2 separate regions of the Homo sapiens genome follow, and region 1 is linked to region 2. Evidence: promoter capture Hi-C in human tissues and cell types (Jung and others, 2019). All regions are on one chromosome and are shown on one strand. Each heading gives the region's core, a stretch centred on a gene start or on the middle of the fragment in contact. The rest is flanking DNA. Distances are from core to core; before and after follow the strand shown. Region 1 overlaps LINC02136 (long intergenic non-protein coding RNA 2136). Region 2 holds the start of CHST4 (carbohydrate sulfotransferase 4).

Evidence for each region. The method cuts DNA at HindIII sites, captures the fragments that hold promoters and counts their contacts. A contact is called where the count stands out against the background at its distance.
Region 1: a contact is called between a fragment that was not itself captured here and the fragment with the promoter of CHST4 in region 2, in 2 of the 25 tissues and cell types used here (mesenchymal stem cells and pancreas).

The regions. Positions count from the first base shown.
Region 1 is chr16:71,407,886-71,411,508 of GRCh38, forward strand. LINC02136 (long intergenic non-protein coding RNA 2136) reads right to left here. Exons shown (of 3, transcript NR_146574.1): 3 at 2,556-2,649. Among named protein-coding and RNA genes, the nearest start is that of LINC02136, 17 kb to the right of the region's middle. The HindIII fragment of the contact is 3,624 bases long and covers 334-3,623 here.
Region 2 is chr16:71,524,932-71,528,388 of GRCh38, forward strand. CHST4 (carbohydrate sulfotransferase 4) reads left to right here and starts at 1,495. Exons shown (of 2, transcript NM_001166395.2): 1 at 1,495-1,564. RefSeq lists an enhancer at 1,128-1,738. The HindIII fragment of the contact is 30,806 bases long and covers 1-3,457 here.

The DNA of each region.
Region 1 (3,623 bases), core at 896-3,395, 120 kb before region 2:
TCTCTGATCTTTCCTCTGAATGAGGAACTACTAATTCTGAGGCTTGTGGTTAAACAGAAATGTATTCACCACAAATGAAGATTATCTCAAGATCTTGCTCCCCACAAAATTAACTGTTTCATTTTAATTGTAGCTCATATTTTAATAGTAAAGGACTGAAAGGTTTATGTTGCACTTAATGCTCTCAAAAACCTTTAGGGTGTTTGTTTGTTTGTTTGTTTAGAGACAGGATCTCACTCTGTCACCCAGGCTGGAGTGCAGTGGCACAATTATAGCTCACTGCAACCTTGAACTCCTGGGCTCAAGTGATCCTCCCACCTCAGCTTCCTGCATAGCTGAGACTACAGGGGCATGCCACTGGGCTCTGCTGAATTTCGTTTCTTTTTTTTTTTCCTCTCTTTTTTTTTTTTTTTTTTTTGTAGAGACAGGGTCTCACTATGTTGTCCAGGCTGGAATCCTTAAGGTTTGCATAACGAGAAACACAGTAAGAACCAAGTTCCAGTTGATCAGGCTGCCCTACCAGATTAAGGAACTCGTACTTTATATCCAATGGGGCTGCAGTTTGGAAGCCCTGTAGTCGTCGACTTTCCCTTTAAGCAGTGCACAGAAATAGGAAGAGATCAATAAAGCCCAGAAGAGAAATCTTGCCAAACTTCAACACAGCAAATAACAACCACTTATCGAGGGCTCAACTCCACTAGGAACATCACAAAGCAGCAGTTCTCAGTTGGGGGCAATTTTGTCCCACTCTCACCTCCCCAAAGACATTGAGCAATGTCTGAAGACATTTTTTATTGGTGAAACGAGGTGGGGATGGGGTGGAGGGTGCTACTGGTATCTAGTGGGTAGAGCCAGAGATGCTGCTAATCACCCTGCAATGCACAAGTCAGTCCACAACAACAAGGAATGATTTGGCCCCACATGGCAAGATTCCCCAGGTTGGGAAACTCTGGTATAAAATAAAGGCACCTGAAACACGCCCCTGACCCCAACCCCAGGCATCCAGTCTTTATGTCATGATCCCTCTGAACATCTTAGTTAAGCTATTGCCTTTGCTCCTAAGGGAAAAAAAAATATTTATACATGCATACACAGAAACAAAGCTTTGCAATTTTGGGGGGCAAGGTGACAGAGCAGGGGCCTTGCCATTGTGGACAAGCACCTTATTTTAAAATTCATCTTAATCAAAAACCGCCTAAAGCCAAAAGGCATCAGCCTAATGGCTAAGGTCGGCATGACCAGAAACTACAAATAACATCTCCGACCAGAAACATTCCAAACTCCTCCCCAACCAGAGACATGCTAGCCCCAAGATAACCCCCCTCTGGCTGGGAAGATGCCAGCCCCAAGATAACTAACCTCCCTCCTGCCGGAAAGACGTCAGCCCCAAGATAACCTCCTCTCTGCCCAGAAACATTCCGACCCGGCTATAGACTTCTCCCTGACCCAAAAACATTCCAAGCTTGTGATAAGACCCTCACCCTAAAACCAATATATACTTTTAGTCTGTAACAGAAAGCGCCCCTGACCAAAATCGGCCAGAAGCCCCTCCAGGTTTTATCTAAAGTAAACCTGTCTTTAAAAATTTCATGTTTTTTTCCTCTTTCTTTAACTCTTACACAAGTGTTCATCAATCCCTGATGCCCATTCAGGAACACTCCTCAATCCCAGACACCCAAAGATACTGAAGTCAGGTTCTTTTCCTTTTTCTTTTTTTTTTGTCTCGCTCTGTCACTCAGGCTGGAGAGCGGTGGCGTGATCTCAGCTCACTGCAATCTCACCTCCTGGGTTCAAGCGATTCTCCTGCTTCAGCCTCCCGAGTAGCTGGGACTACAGGTCTCCATCTCCTGACCTCGTGATCCACCCGCCTTGGCCTCCCAAAGTGCTGGGATTACAGGTGTGAGCCATTGTGCCCAGCTGAGGTCAGGTACTCTTTTTAGCGAGTATTCCCATTTTAAAAAATCTTTTTAAATAAAAAGAACCTGGCTCCAAAAAAACCATTTGCATGTATGATACCTCATTGAAACCTCAGAGCCATCCAACCGGGTCAGGTCTACCCGAATTGCCATGGACAGAGAACAAGACTGGGGCACCGAGAGGTTTAGATGACTTTTCTGTGGTGACACAGCCAGTGAGTGGCAGAGACACAGGAATGCCACCCCACCCCTGCTCTGGCCACCACCGGCACTCCAGGTTCTGACACCCCATGCCGTGGAATCGCACGGTGGGATCCCAGCTGACCCAGGGTGCTCCGTCTCCACCCTGGCTTTCCATCTGGCCCACACAGGTGAAGTGCAAAGGCTGATCTCAGAGAAACCATCAGAGGTACTATCACACTGCCTCATCAGTGACAGTCACTCTCCTGGCCAGGTGCATGGGCGTGGATGTGGATCACATCAGGTGTGGAACAGAGGCAGCGCACTCCTCGAGCCCCAGGTGTTTGTGGGAAGCCAACCATACCCTGAATCTCTCCTAGGTACAGGTAGGCCCAGGTGCAGCTCTGACAGGCTCGCCACTCCCGGGCAGGAAACCTCCCAGCCTCAGTCAGCTCCTCTTAATCAGCCCCTCTTCATCTCCAACCAGGATCACCAGTCTGCCAGGCCCCTTCCTGTGCTCCTCAGGAGGCCAGCAGTCTGCCAATATCTGGAACTTAATGAAATGAGAGTAAAAGTGAATCCCTGAGGTTGCCTTATTTTTCCTCCATTGAACCTCTTTCCAGTTCCCTCAGTCTCTCTCTGCCTTTGTTTTATAGTAAGAGGCTACATTTGGACCAGGTGAGCTACTGGTCACGCAGGAGTCGATCTTGCTGTCCTCCTCTGGCTGGACACTATGGCCTGGAACTGACTTCCAGCTCAGGAGTTTGAGCCCAGGAAGCTTATCCTCTGTTTTCACATGCTAGTAGTCACCCTTTTGGTCTGATTGCTGTTGAAAACCACGCAATACAACACCTGCAACTCTGTCGGAAGCCTGTGACAATCAAACTGCATTCACCCAGACTGTGTTCAGAGGCGCATATGTCTTAGAGTTTGCAAATGCATATATTCAAGTCTAAAATCTGTGTTTCAGAAAGCAACAGCCAACCAGATTTAGCAAGTCCCACCCATTTGCCGTAGGTACACCAGACCAATTTTTTAAATGAGTAAAACATTTTTTTTTTTTTTGAGACTGAGTCTCACTCCATCGCCCAGGCTGGAATGCAGTGGCACGATCTCAGCTCACTGCAACCTCTGCCTCCTGGGTTCAAGCGATTCTCGTACCTCAGCCTCCCAAGTAGCTAGAATTACAGCATGTGCCGCCATGCCCAGCTAATTTTTGTAGTTTTAGTAGAGATGGGGTTTCACTATGTTGGCTAGGCTGGTTTCAAACTCCTGACCTCGGCCTCCCAAAGTGCTGGGATTACAGGCATGAGCCACCATGTCCAGCCAAAACATTATTTTAAAGCTAAGCTCCCCACCCTCTTGCTATTCCTTTGGTTCCCCTCTCTCCCCGGGACAAACCCCATTCAACTCTAACATGCATCCCATCTCTGGATATTTCTCACTGTTACAAGGCAGTCATGTAGCCAGGACCACCGTGTCCTGATGTCTAGTGTGTTTGACAACTAACAGAAAAGGGATTTGGCG
Region 2 (3,457 bases), core at 245-2,744:
CACGGTTTTGTTTCCCAGTTTTAACTACTCATCATCAACCACGATTTGAAAATATTAAATGGGAAAATTACAGAAATAAACAGTTCATTTATTACATACTATTCTGAGTAGCATGATGAAGCCTTGTGCCATCTCGCTGTGTCGTGCCAGCACCTGAATCATCTCTTTGTGCATAAAAGCAAAACTACCGACTGCCCAGTTCTAGTGCTTCCAGTTACACCTCTGCCCAAAGTCCTTCACTGGAGGAAGAGAAATTTCTCTTCTCTCTGCCAGAGAGAAACAGGAAGGGAGGAAGAGCCACACAATTGAAATCAAGTCAAGGCAAGCACCACAGGTTCTTGTCATTTGTGCTTAGCGGACTTAGCTGATGGAAATCGGCAAAGATCATCCCAAAGCTCACACAACTCCCTGCCTGCTCTCTCTCTCTTCCAAGGTCTGGAAAAGGAAGTGGCAGCTGAGTTGCGGGGGTGGGTGGCGGTGGGAAGGTATTATTATTCAACCACTTTTTAACTCTTATATTGTCATATTATTGTGTTAGGAGCTTCATACGCATTAATCCTAACATTCACAACAATACTGTAAAATAGATATTGTTACCCTTATTTAACACCGATGATATTCTAGGGCTCAAAGAGGTGGTATGACTTGCCCGGCAAGATCTTGGACTTGAAAGTCTGAGGCTTCCATTCTCCACCACAATTTACGTTTATTCACGGGCATCCATTGTTTCAGACTCATGACAACCGTGTAAAGTAGCACGGAGTAGGTAAGTGATTTGCCCAAGGGCACACAGCAAGGGAGAGGTTGTAATCTTTAATGATAATTTGTTTCTTTTTTTCTTAAAGGGGACTTTTTTTTCTCCTGTACCACCAAGCCAGTACATCTATGTCCTCCCAGAAAATATTTATTACCTCTTGTAGCAAGGGTGAAGATATTGAATACAACACAGAGGCTGAGAAATGTTACCTCCCTAGACCCAGGGTGGAGTGAGCAGGCAGGTGTAATGCAAGAAATAACTTTCACATTTTCTCCTTGGAGATAAGAACAAGGTCTAAAAATCAGGTTTGAGATTTTGTAGCCTTTCGGCTTGTAAGTGTCATGAAATTTCCCTATCAGCCTCATCTACTAGCTCCCTGGGTCTCTCTCTCTCTCTTTCTCTTTTTCCCCACCTCCCCACTCTGCCCATAGGGAGTTGACCTTCACAGTTGCCTTTCAGTAGTCAACATGCCAGGATGCCTCCAGTCTGGGGGAAAATGCTTCCTCATTTGCTTCTCCCAGCCCACCTCAAGCAGTCTCCCCACCCCTTGAGTCTCAGCAGTGTTAAAGCTGTTACTTTCACAGCTTCCTGGGAGCGAGTGCTTTCTCAAGCCCGTCTTGCAAGGTGGGTCCTTTTTTGTTTTTGGCAGAAGGGAGGGACAGTGAAATGTGCTCTGAGTAGGGACGGTTATGCAAAAGCAAGTAGGAGGAGGAAGCCAAGAGGGGAGTTGGTGAGTCAGAGGAGAAAAGCGCATGGCCCGGCTAGCAGTGAGCCTCTCAAAAGCAGCAGGGAAGCCCAAGCCACAAGGTAAGAAGAGAATTTCTGTGTACGACTCCAATGCAGAGCCATTACCCAGAGCTGCTGGAGCAAGAGTATCAGATAACCTCTGGCAGCTAAGCTAGAGATTACAGTGGCGAAGGCGGTTTGCGCAGAGGGGATAAATCAGATCACCTGGGGAATTTTCTGGGTAAAATAAAACACAAGCTGCTTACCAGCAGCCCCCAAGCCCCACTAGCTCTATCCCTAAATGGGTCCAAAAGAGCCCAGAGAGCAGATCAGGCTGTTCTGATGTATATTTTGTAGATGGTCCCCTGGTGCCAACTGACTCGTTCAGATCCTGGCTTTGGAGCTCAAATTTCTGTACTTCCTGCAGCTTCTCCTCTGTTTTCTGCTGGGGAGTGGAAGACAGGAGGTGCAAGGAGCTGTAGGTTTTCTCTAGCTCAGGAGAGGGACAGTGTGATCATTGAAAATTCTCAGCCCTGGGATCCCCAAAACCTGGGTTCTGATCCAGAAAAGGCTATTTATACCGGATGAGCCAGTCAATTAAAGTTTAGTTTATTTATTCTGAAAAATGAAGAAATGTCTCATCACTGTCTAAAATATCTAACCGATCAGTATCATAATTGCAGCTAAAAGGGCTTTAAAAATGTGGAACACCACGCACATGTGCAATATGATTAAGTTATGGTGCCAACATATCAGCTATGGTAGAAGATACGTCTATCTTGCATGGCCTTGGACAAGTATGAAACTTCTAATTGGAATTGAAATACTTTTCTATGTGTAAAATAAATGTAATATTGTCGATGAAAAGAGTCAGACTCTGTGACATATTTGAAGAGATTTATTCTGAGCCAAATATGAGTGACCATGGCCGGTGACACAGCCCTCAGGAGGTCCTGAGAACATGTGTCTAAGGTGGTCGGGGTGCAGCTTGGTTTTATACACTTTAGGGAGACATGAGACTTCAATCAAATACATTTAAGAAATACATCTAGCCAGGCGCGATGGCTCGCGCCTGTAATCCCAGCACTTTGGGAAGCTGAGGCAGGTGGATCACCTGAGGCCAGGAGTTCAAGACCAGCCCGGCCAACATGGCGAAACCCTGTCTGTACTAAAAATACCAAAAAAATTAGCTGGGCATGGTGGCAGGCACCTGTAATCCCAGCTACTCAGGAGGCTGAGGCAGGAGAATCGCTTGAAACCGGGAGGCTGCAGTGAGCCGAGATCCTGCCATTGCACTCTAGCCTGGGCAACAAGAGCAAAACTCCATCTCAAAAAAGAAAAAAGAAAAGAAAAAAGTACGGGTCTGTCGCCCAGGCTGGAGTGCAGTGGTGCGATCTCGGCTCACTGCAACTGAGAGGAAGCCTTCAGATAGCAGGCTTCAGAGAGAATAGGTTGTAAAATGTTTCTTATCAGACTTAAGGTCTGTGTTGGTGTTAATGCTGGAGAGGTATGATGAGGCATGTTAGATCCCCACTTCTTGTCATGGCCTGAAACAGTCTCTCAGGTTAAATTTTAAAAAGACCCCTGGCTGGGCACAGTGGCTCATGGGTGTAATCACAGCACTATTAGGAGACTGAGGTCACTTGAGGTCAGGAGTTCGAGACCTGCCTGGCCAACATGGCAAAACCATGTCTGTACTAAAAATACAAAAAATTAGCCAGGTCACTCGGGAGGCTGAGGCAGGAGAAGCGCTTGAACCTGAGGAGTCGAGGTTGCAGTGAGCTGAGATCGTGCCACTGCACTCCAGCCTGGACAACAGAGCAAGACTTCATTTCAAAAAAAAAAAAAAAAAAAAGAGTCCTGGCTGAGGAGGAAGTCCTTTCAGATGGTTGGGGGGCCTTAGAATTTTATTTTTGGTTTATAATATCTTGCTCAATCTTCCTTTCTGGGTCTCATATAGTAAAAAAAAAAACA